2 separate regions of the Homo sapiens genome follow, and region 2 is linked to region 1. The links are contacts of gene promoters, found by promoter capture Hi-C in blood cells and fetal thymus (Javierre and others, 2016). All regions are on one chromosome and are shown on one strand. The core of a region is centred on a gene start or on the middle of the fragment in contact, and the rest is flanking DNA. Distances in the headings are between cores, read along the strand shown. Region 1 holds the start of SULT4A1 (sulfotransferase family 4A member 1). Region 2 overlaps LOC105373059 (a long non-coding RNA gene).

What was found. Contacts are between HindIII fragments. The CHiCAGO score rates a contact against its expected background, and 5 or more counts as called.
Region 2: a fragment that was not itself captured here is called in contact with the fragment with the promoter of SULT4A1 in region 1 in 1 of 17 cell types (activated CD4 T cells); the score reaches 5.5 in activated CD4 T cells.

Annotation. Positions count from the first base shown.
Region 1 is chr22:43,859,908-43,864,251 of GRCh38, reverse strand. It overlaps SULT4A1 (sulfotransferase family 4A member 1), which reads left to right and starts at 1,739. Exons shown (of 7, transcript NM_014351.4): 1 at 1,739-2,038. The coding sequence starts at 1,870. RefSeq lists an enhancer at 3,424-3,923. The HindIII fragment of the contact is 4,757 bases long and covers 159-4,344 here.
Region 2 is chr22:44,545,075-44,549,282 of GRCh38, reverse strand. All of the region lies in intron 1 of LOC105373059 (a long non-coding RNA gene), which reads left to right. Among named protein-coding and RNA genes, the nearest start is that of LINC00207, 22 kb to the left of the region's middle. RefSeq lists an enhancer at 3,537-4,090. The HindIII fragment of the contact is 8,892 bases long and covers 1-4,208 here.

The DNA.
Region 1 (4,344 bases), core at 490-2,989:
CAGTGAGAACCCTCACCTGAAACATCAGGATATTCATTCATTCACTCAATCCCTCTAGCTTTTGGCTAGATGCCCTTTTGCCATTGGCCTAATTATTCTGAATAAAGGCTGGGTGCTCGGAATGTCCTCTTTCTTTTTTGGAAAGACATCTACAAGCTTCCCAAGTCAGGATTAATTGCTGTTTCCTCTCTCTGTCTGCTATGTACACATGGCCTGCGCTTCTCAGCCCATGTGTATGTCTTTGGTGTCAGAATGCACGTGTCTCACTCTACAGTAAGAAGGAGAGAGTAGGAATAGGTCCCGTCCAGCCACTCTGCTCCAGATTCTTGTTGGTGTAAACTCCTTCCATCTTCCTGGCTACACTACTTAGAGGTAGGAATCATTCTTTTCCTTTACACAGCTGATGATGCTCGGCTGCAGAGAATGAGAGCAGGCTGTGTTGTTTTCATCTTTGTGCTTCCCCAGGCATGTTAGTAGGTGCTTCATATATGTCTGTTGAGTGCATGACTGGCAAGGGGTTGCACTGAGATCTCTAGAACTCGGTTGCTCTCAAATTATAGTTTGCACAAGAAGTGCCTTACTAAATGTATATTTTTGTAATTTTTCTCCATAGATCTGGGGTCCTGGAATTTGCAATCCAACACTCCCCTCCCCTACTCATGGGATATTAAGAAGCACTTTTTGGCTGGGCGAGGTGGTTCACACCTGTAATCCCAGCACTTTGGGAGGCCAAGGTGGGCAGATCACGAGGTCAGGAGATTGAGACCATCCTGGCTAACACGATGAAACCCCGTCTCTACTAAAACAAACAAACAAAAAATACAAAAAATTAGCCAGGCATGGTGGCATGTGCCTGTAGTCCCAGCTACTCGGGAGGCTGAGCCAGGAGAATGGCGTAAACCCGGGAGGTGGAGCTTGCAGTGAGCTGAGATCGCGCCCCTGCACTCCAGCCTGGGCGACACAGCGAGACTCCATCTCAAAAAAAAAAAAAAAAAAAAAAAAGCAAAAAAAAAGCACTTTGTTTTTTTGGCTGGACTAGGTGGCCCATACTTTTTTTTTGTTGTTGTTAGAAGATCTCGTCCTGTTGCCCAGACTGGAGTGCAGTGGTGCAAGCTCACAGCTCACTGCTAATTTTTTTTTTTGTATGTTTGTAGAGATGCGGTTTCACCATTTACCCAGGTTGGTCTCGAACTCTTGACCTCAGGAGATCCGCCCGTGCTCGACCTCTCAAAGTGCTGAGATTACAGGCGTGATCCACCGCGCCTGGCGAAGACGCATATTTTTAATAGGACCTAATATTTACCTGAAATTATCTTGGTTATTTACCAATGTAAGCTCCAACAGGGCCAGGCTTCTGCTTGCTTCTACCCTGACGCGTGTCGGGGCCCTGGCCCAGTGCCTGGCACAGATCAGCAGCGCGCTAAGCACGTGTTGAATGGACGACTACCTTTCAGGGCCTTCCAGCCAGGGTATCTCATGCGTCTGTGTTGAGCGCTTGCTGAGTGACAGAAGCTATGAGCGGAATGAACGCACGCACGACTGAGGAGGCTGCAGACCGCGGGCCAGGGTCTCTGTCAGCCCCGGCAGCGGGTGGGTGACCCCGGCCGGGGGCGGGGCGGGGAGGACGCGGCTCCGCGGCGCCATGACGTCACGCCCGTGCAGCGCCGCGGCCGCGTGCCGGGCGGCGCCATGACGTCATACCCGCGGAGCCTCCGCCGCGCGTCGGCGGCGCCATGACGTCACGCCTGCGGAGCTGCCGCCGCGCGCCGGTGGGGCGCGAGCGTGTGCGGGGCGCGGGCGCGGGCGCGGGCGCGGGCGCGTGCGGGCTGCGAGCCGGGAGGCGGCGGCGGCGACGGCGACGGCGGCGGCATGGCGGAGAGCGAGGCCGAGACCCCCAGCACCCCGGGGGAGTTCGAGAGCAAGTACTTCGAGTTCCATGGCGTGCGGCTGCCGCCCTTCTGCCGCGGGAAGATGGAGGAGATCGCCAACTTCCCGGTGCGGCCCAGCGACGTGTGGATCGTCACCTACCCCAAGTCCGGTGAGCCCCGCGCCGACCGCGCCCGCCACGCCATGCCCCAGCCCTGCAGCGCGGCCGCGTAGACGCCGCGCCCGCGCCCGGGGCTTCTGCTGGGCCGGGTGGTCGCCCTTGGCCTCCGCCCCTGCCGTGCCCACCGCTCTCCCGATGCTCGGATCCCTGCGGGGCGGGGTGGGGTGGGGTGGGGGTGGGAAGGGGCTTGGTTCTCATCTGGGGAAACCAAGGTCAGAGACCTTCGGGAGCGGCCCCTTCCGTGGAGATGGAGCCTATTTGGCCGGCGCTGCAGGAGGATGGGCCCAGGGCCGCCACCCATCCCTGCTTCTCCCTTTACCTGGCTGGCTGTGTGACCTTGGACAGGTCACTCAACCTCTCTGTTCCTGAATCCTGCCCAACCTTTGATGAGTGCAAAGTCCTGGTGTTCACCTGGGAAGGGAGATAACATGGGCGTCAGGGCTTTCAGCGTGGAAACGTAACGTCCCTCCTTTCCAGCCTGGGCTCCGGGTGGGGGATGGGACCAGTCCCCGCCTGGAGTGCCTTGCTTGTACATTCTCTTGTTTCAGGGCTGCCTCCATCACCGAGGCAGGACCTGGGGCATTCACATTTCCCAGCATTAGCTGACGTCACTTTCACAATAACAGCTGTGTGAGCTAGTGGTGGTCATTCCCACTTTACAGTCTAGGCACAGAGGCTCAGAGAGGGGAAGAGGCTGGTCCAAGGTCACTCAGCTGGTGAGTGGCTGACCTGGGAATTAAAGCTAGGCTGGTCTGTTTCCAGACCTGAGGTAGGAGATTGTATAGTACCCCATCTGAGGTTTTTAGGGAAAGGAGGTAGCAGCTTTCCTGTTCTGTAAACATGCCCTGGGATTTCCTTGTTGCCACTGTATTTGAGGCAATCACAGCGTGGTTTAGAAGGTGTCTGGCTCTAAGGTCACGCCGGACCAGCAGTCGGGCAGTTTCAGGAAAAGCTGTAGGCTTGGCTGTTGTAGCTGTATGGAGTTCCAGACACCTGAGGGCAGGTCTCTGACATTCTTCTGAGGAAGATTGGAGTAGGGACTCTCAGTGGAGGGTGTTGGTTGGAGAACAGAGCGTTCGATGGGCTGCTATCTTGAGCACATGCCAGTCGCCGCATGGGGTGGGACCTAAAATGCTTTAGGAATGGCTAAGCGTGTCGTTGGCTTCTGTGGCCACTCATTAAGTCCTGCGGGCCAAGTGCTCTATCGCTGTTAATCTGTGAGGGACTCTTACACCTTTTTTTCAGAGGCTCAGAGAAGGCACAAATTGTTCGGAGTCACACAGTTGCTGAGGGACAGAGGTCAGGTCTAGCTAGGTCTCCCGGTCCACGGCCAGCCTCTCCCCTGCCTTATGGGTGCTCCGTTGCCCTTGGAAAACCGTGAGGGCCCAAGAAGGAGGGGGACCTAGCCTTCTTTCTTGGAGGCTTTAAAATGCTGGAAGTCTCAGCCACTTAGGGATTTTGAGGTTTGTGTCACTTCTCTGAGGCCCCTCCAAGTGGACTTCTGGTAGCCCAGTTCATATTTTCTTTTCCTTTCCTTCCATCTGCTACTGGGGATGGATTTGTAGCAGGCATCAGTGCTTACACATTAAGAACCTGGCTTCGGAGTTGGAAGTCCTGGGTTTGAATGCAGTTTTGCGGCTTACCAGCAGAGTGACCCTGGGCAGATCATAGAATCCCATTGAGCTGTGGTCTCTGCGGAGGGAGAAGAGACCACCTCGGCCCGCTGATGTGTGGCTGTGAGGATGAGCAAAATGGCGGGTGAGAACGCTTAGCCCACGTCCAGACACACGCTGGAAAGGCTCGTGGTTAATGCTGACTTTTAAGCCCTGAACACCTGTTGTGCCCAGATGCTTTGCTAGGGGCTGGGGAAGCCGAGAGGGCCCCATCTGGTGCCTGTCCTTAGTGAGCTCTCAGTCTGATGGGGGAGACATGGTTGGTGCTGGGGTTGGGGCAAGTAGCCAGGACTAACAGGTGCCCCATTCACCTGCCATGGCAGGGAACCCACGGGCCTCCTTGGATTTCCAGTGCCCAGGTGTAGGAGATCCTAATGAACTTGCAGGTGGTCAGAGCCGGAAGGGCCTGGTCCCTTGTCAGCCCCTTCCCACCCTCTGCTGATGGAGAAACTGGGGTTCAAAGGGGTGGTGGGGGCTTTCTGGTGGCTAAGGCAATGATAATTAGATCCTGCCTTCGCTTCCTGTCCGGTATTTTTTCCCACAACCCCGTGCTGCTTGCTCGGATTCTTTTTGTGCTTGCGACATTCTAGCTTAGATGGCGGGTTAGGACTGTGCTCTCCAGCG
Region 2 (4,208 bases), core at 205-2,704, 690 kb before region 1:
GAAGGTGGGGAAGGAGAGGGTCAACGTCTGCTCCCTCCTGTCTCTGTGATCCTCAGATATGAGTTACGGCCTGGGGCCCGAGCCGGGCTCTCACTGCCTTGAGGCCCATGGTCCTCACTGCTGACCACCTCTGTGTTTCTCCTTTCTCTAAGAAGCCCGTTGGTGGGAGAAGCCACCCTTGTTCTCAGGCAGACACCTGCAGATCGCTCAGCCTCAGTTGCTTTCAATCCCAGCAAGAGAGGCCTACCGCTCAGAAGTTTTCTTTGCCATGAGTGGAACTTCAGATTTTTTCTGTAAACCTGTGAAGCAGCTCAGCTTCACAGAGAACTCCAAACTCTCACGCCTCTGTGTGACCTTGACCAAGTTCATTAACCTCTCTGTGTTTTACTTTTCCCATCTGTAAAATAAAGTGGGTGGATTAGACCAGCACTATAATAGACATGGAATTTGAGCCACATACAGAGTTTGTGGCTAAAGTTTTCTAGCAGCCACGTTTAGAAAAGAAATAGGTAAAAGTATTTTAATAATACATTTTATTTAACTCAATATATCCAAAATATTGGTACAACATGGACTCTAGATGAGTTGTTAAAGAGACATTTTGCAATTTATTTTATTTTATTTTTTTGACATGGAGTTTTGCTCTTGTCACCCAGGCTGGAATGCAATGGTGAGATCTCGGCTCACTGCAACCTCCGCCTCCCAGGTTCAAGCGATTCTCCTGCCTCAGCCTCCCGAATAGCTGAGATTACAGGCATGCACCACCACGCCCAGCTAATTTTGTATTTTTAGTAGACACGGGGTTTCTCCATGTTGGTCAGGCTGGTCTCCAACTCCCGACCTCAGGTGATCTGCCCGCCTCAGCCTCCCAAAGTGCTGGGATTATAGGGTGAGCCACCACACCCGGCCACAGTTGCTTGCTTTCTCACGAAAGGTTTAACACAAGCCGGTAACTCTCCTGGGTGGTGTCCTCCATACAGTGACTCAGGGACCCAGCCAGGCCACTTTCATGTTCTCCAGTGAGGAGGAGGAGGAGGAGAGAGCTGGGCATGGCCTGGCTGTGCAGACCACCCTATCCCATTGGGCAGAGCTCAGGAACATGGCCCTACCTTAGTGCAAGGGGGGCTGCGGGTCAGAGTCTTCCTCGGACCTGGGAAGATGAGCGATGCTTCCAGTGAATGGTTTTGTCCGCCTCAGGGCCCTTGCCCATTCTCTCCCCTCTGCTTGGAATGTTCTTCCTTTCCCTTTTCTGGGGATTAAGTTCTGCTTATCTCTGGTGGGATGCAGTGGCTTACGCCTGTAATCCCAGCACTTTGGGAGGTGGAGGCGGGTGGATGAGTCAGGAGTTCGAGACCAGCCTGGCCAACATGGTGAAACTCCGTCTCTACTAAAAATACAAAACGTAGCTAGGCATGGTGGTGCCTGTAATCCCAGCTGCTTGGGAGGCTGAGGCAGGAGAATCACTTGAACCCAGGAGGCAGAGGTTGCAGTGAACCGAGATCACCCCACTGCACTCCAGCCTGGGTGACAGAGCAAGGTTTCATCTCAAAAAAAAAAAGGAAAAAAATTCTGCTTGTCTCAGATCAAATGTCACTTCCTCAGGGAGGGCAGGGGCCTGGGAGCCAGGCAGGGCTGGGTCCTGCAGGCGCAGTTACCCACCACCCATGGCAGGCAGCAGCAGGAGCTTGGGCTTTACCCCTGACCTGGACAACGGAACTGAAGGGTTTCCGGGGCCTGCGGGAGGTACAAGGATGGGATTTGCATTTGAAACCAACCTCTTGGGCTGGATGGAGAGCCGATACTGATACCTCTATTTTTAAGAAAGGCCAACTCTCTTGGTGCCCTGAGCAAAGCAAAACTCTGCGTGATGCCAACTTTGATGAACAATCTCGTCTCCATTGAAATATTTTACCCACGTGCCCAGGAAAAGGCTGATACGTTATTCAGCCTCACAGCTGCCAGGGCAGAGGGGCCCCCGGCTGTTTCCTCATGAGCTGCCTTTGCTAGGCCAGGGCCCGAAGAGGAGCCCAGGGAGGCCGGCGCTTTCAGGGAGCAGAGATCGAGGCAGCCTTGAGTCTTCTCGGCTTCTCAGCCAAGGGCCTGAGCCCGGTCACTTCTTTCATGTTTATGGAGCTTAATGAATGCTGAGGGCAGGTGGCCCAGGCCCTGGGCCACAGACATGAGACAGGAACAATCCTGAGCTATCTCAGTGTGAGGTGGGGACCGACGTCCAGACAGCTAGAAAGCAACAGGCGGACAGAGAGCAACAAGGGGGCATGGGAGTCCAGGTTGGGAAGGACAGCCAGGTCGGGCATGCAGGAAAGGGTATGTCCAAGCTGGGTTCTAAAGGTTGAGTAGGAGTTCACCAGGTGTAGGAGGTGACTGAAAAACATCCCTGGCAGGGACAAGCAGGGGCCAAGCTCTTGAAGGTTGCAAGGGCACAGGGCATGAGTGTGAGCAGGACAGGACATGGGACTGCAGATCTAAGCAGAGGCTGGGTCCTGGAGAGCTTTGAATATCAGGACTATGAGTTTGGACTCAGCCCTGGAGTCCTATGGAGCTGTTGACAGGGATTAAGAAGGGAGTGACATGGATCTGTAGTTCACAGAATGGATCCCAGGCATGCAGAGCGATCCACATGCCTGAGAGTGACCCCGGACTGGACTTCAGAGTTGAAAAAGACAAGCTGGGCACGGCAGCTCCTGCCTGTAATCCCAGCACTTTGGGAGGCTGAGGTGGGCAGATCACCTGAGGTCAGGAGTTTGAGACCAGCCTGGCCAATCTGGTGAAACCCTGTCTCTACTAAAAATACAAAAATTAGCCAGGTGTGGTGGTGGGCACCTGTCATCCCAGCTACTTGGTAGGCTGAGGCAGGAGAATCATTTGAACCTGGGAGGCGGAGGTTGCAGTGAGCCGAGATCATGCCACTGCACTCCAGCCTGGGCGACAGATTGAGATTCCGTCTCAATAACAAAAGAAAAAGAAAAAGACATGGCCTGCCCTTGGGTAGCTCCGTGTCTAATGGGCGAGGTCTGAGTGACCTGAGTACCCTGGAAATTAGGTGGTAGCACCCCTGTTTACAGATGAGGATCTCAACGCTCAGAGAAGTGAGGGAATTTGCCCAAGATCACAAAGTGTGGAGGAAAGGCAGCCTGGAGCTGACCTTTAGCAACTGATCACCGCTCTGGGCTTCTGTCTTCTCAGTCGTCAAATGGGGACACAAGACCCACTGACTTGCTGGGATGCCGAGAGGTGAGGGTCGATCTGTTTCCCCGGCGCCTGACACAGGGTATGCTTTATCAGGGGCTCATGAGTGCGTGCCCTTTCCTCTCCTCCCCCTGCCTCTCCAGCCAAGGAAACCCAGGCTCCCTGGGGGCATTTTCTCAGGAATGTCTCCCAGGCCAAGTCCCCCTTCTAGTTCCACCCTTACTAGCCCCAGAGAATCAGGGCAGGATTGGGGGTTCAGTGAGAACCCAACCTGGGCTAAGGGTGAGGCCGGTTCAGTCCCAATAATAATGGCAAATGTCAGCAGAGCCTGAGCCAAGGGTGTGCTCAACTTATCACATCAAACCTCAGATTAGGTAAATCCTATCAGTCCCATTTCACAGGTAAGGGGAAACTGAGACTCAGAGTCCCACCCAAGGTCACCTGGCTGCTAAAGGGGGAGCTGGAACCCAAACTGCAGGTCCTGAAGGCAAATCCCATGCTCTTCCCTCAATACCCTGCACCCAGAGTGAGCACAGCTCAGGGAGAAGTCCTGAGCCCAGGCTTGAGGGTGACCAGGGTCAAGGTGGAGAGCTGGGCCGGGCCCCCACCAACAACCAGCAGCAGCAGATCCCATGCACCTGAGACCACGAGCAAACAACACGTGCGGGATACCTGGGCCAGGTGTAGCTGATTTGCATATACTGTTTCTAGGCCTCTTGCTGGCCTTTCCTTGGGGCCTGCGCTCAGTCACAGCGAGGGAGGTGGGATCTGAACTCAGGTAAGTGTCACTCCAGGCCACATGCATCCCCTGCTGCAGGCTGCCCGAAGCTCTCCCTTCTTGCTATGGATCCCCGGCAGGGAGCTTAGGGCTGGCACCTGGGCCCGGGTGAGCTGGGTGGAGATGGGCTGAGGTGCCCATGCTGGGCTGTGGGAGGCAATGGCACCCTGTCGAGCCAGGGTGGGCTTGAGCTGGGAAGAGCTGGTCTGAGTGGCTGTGTGGT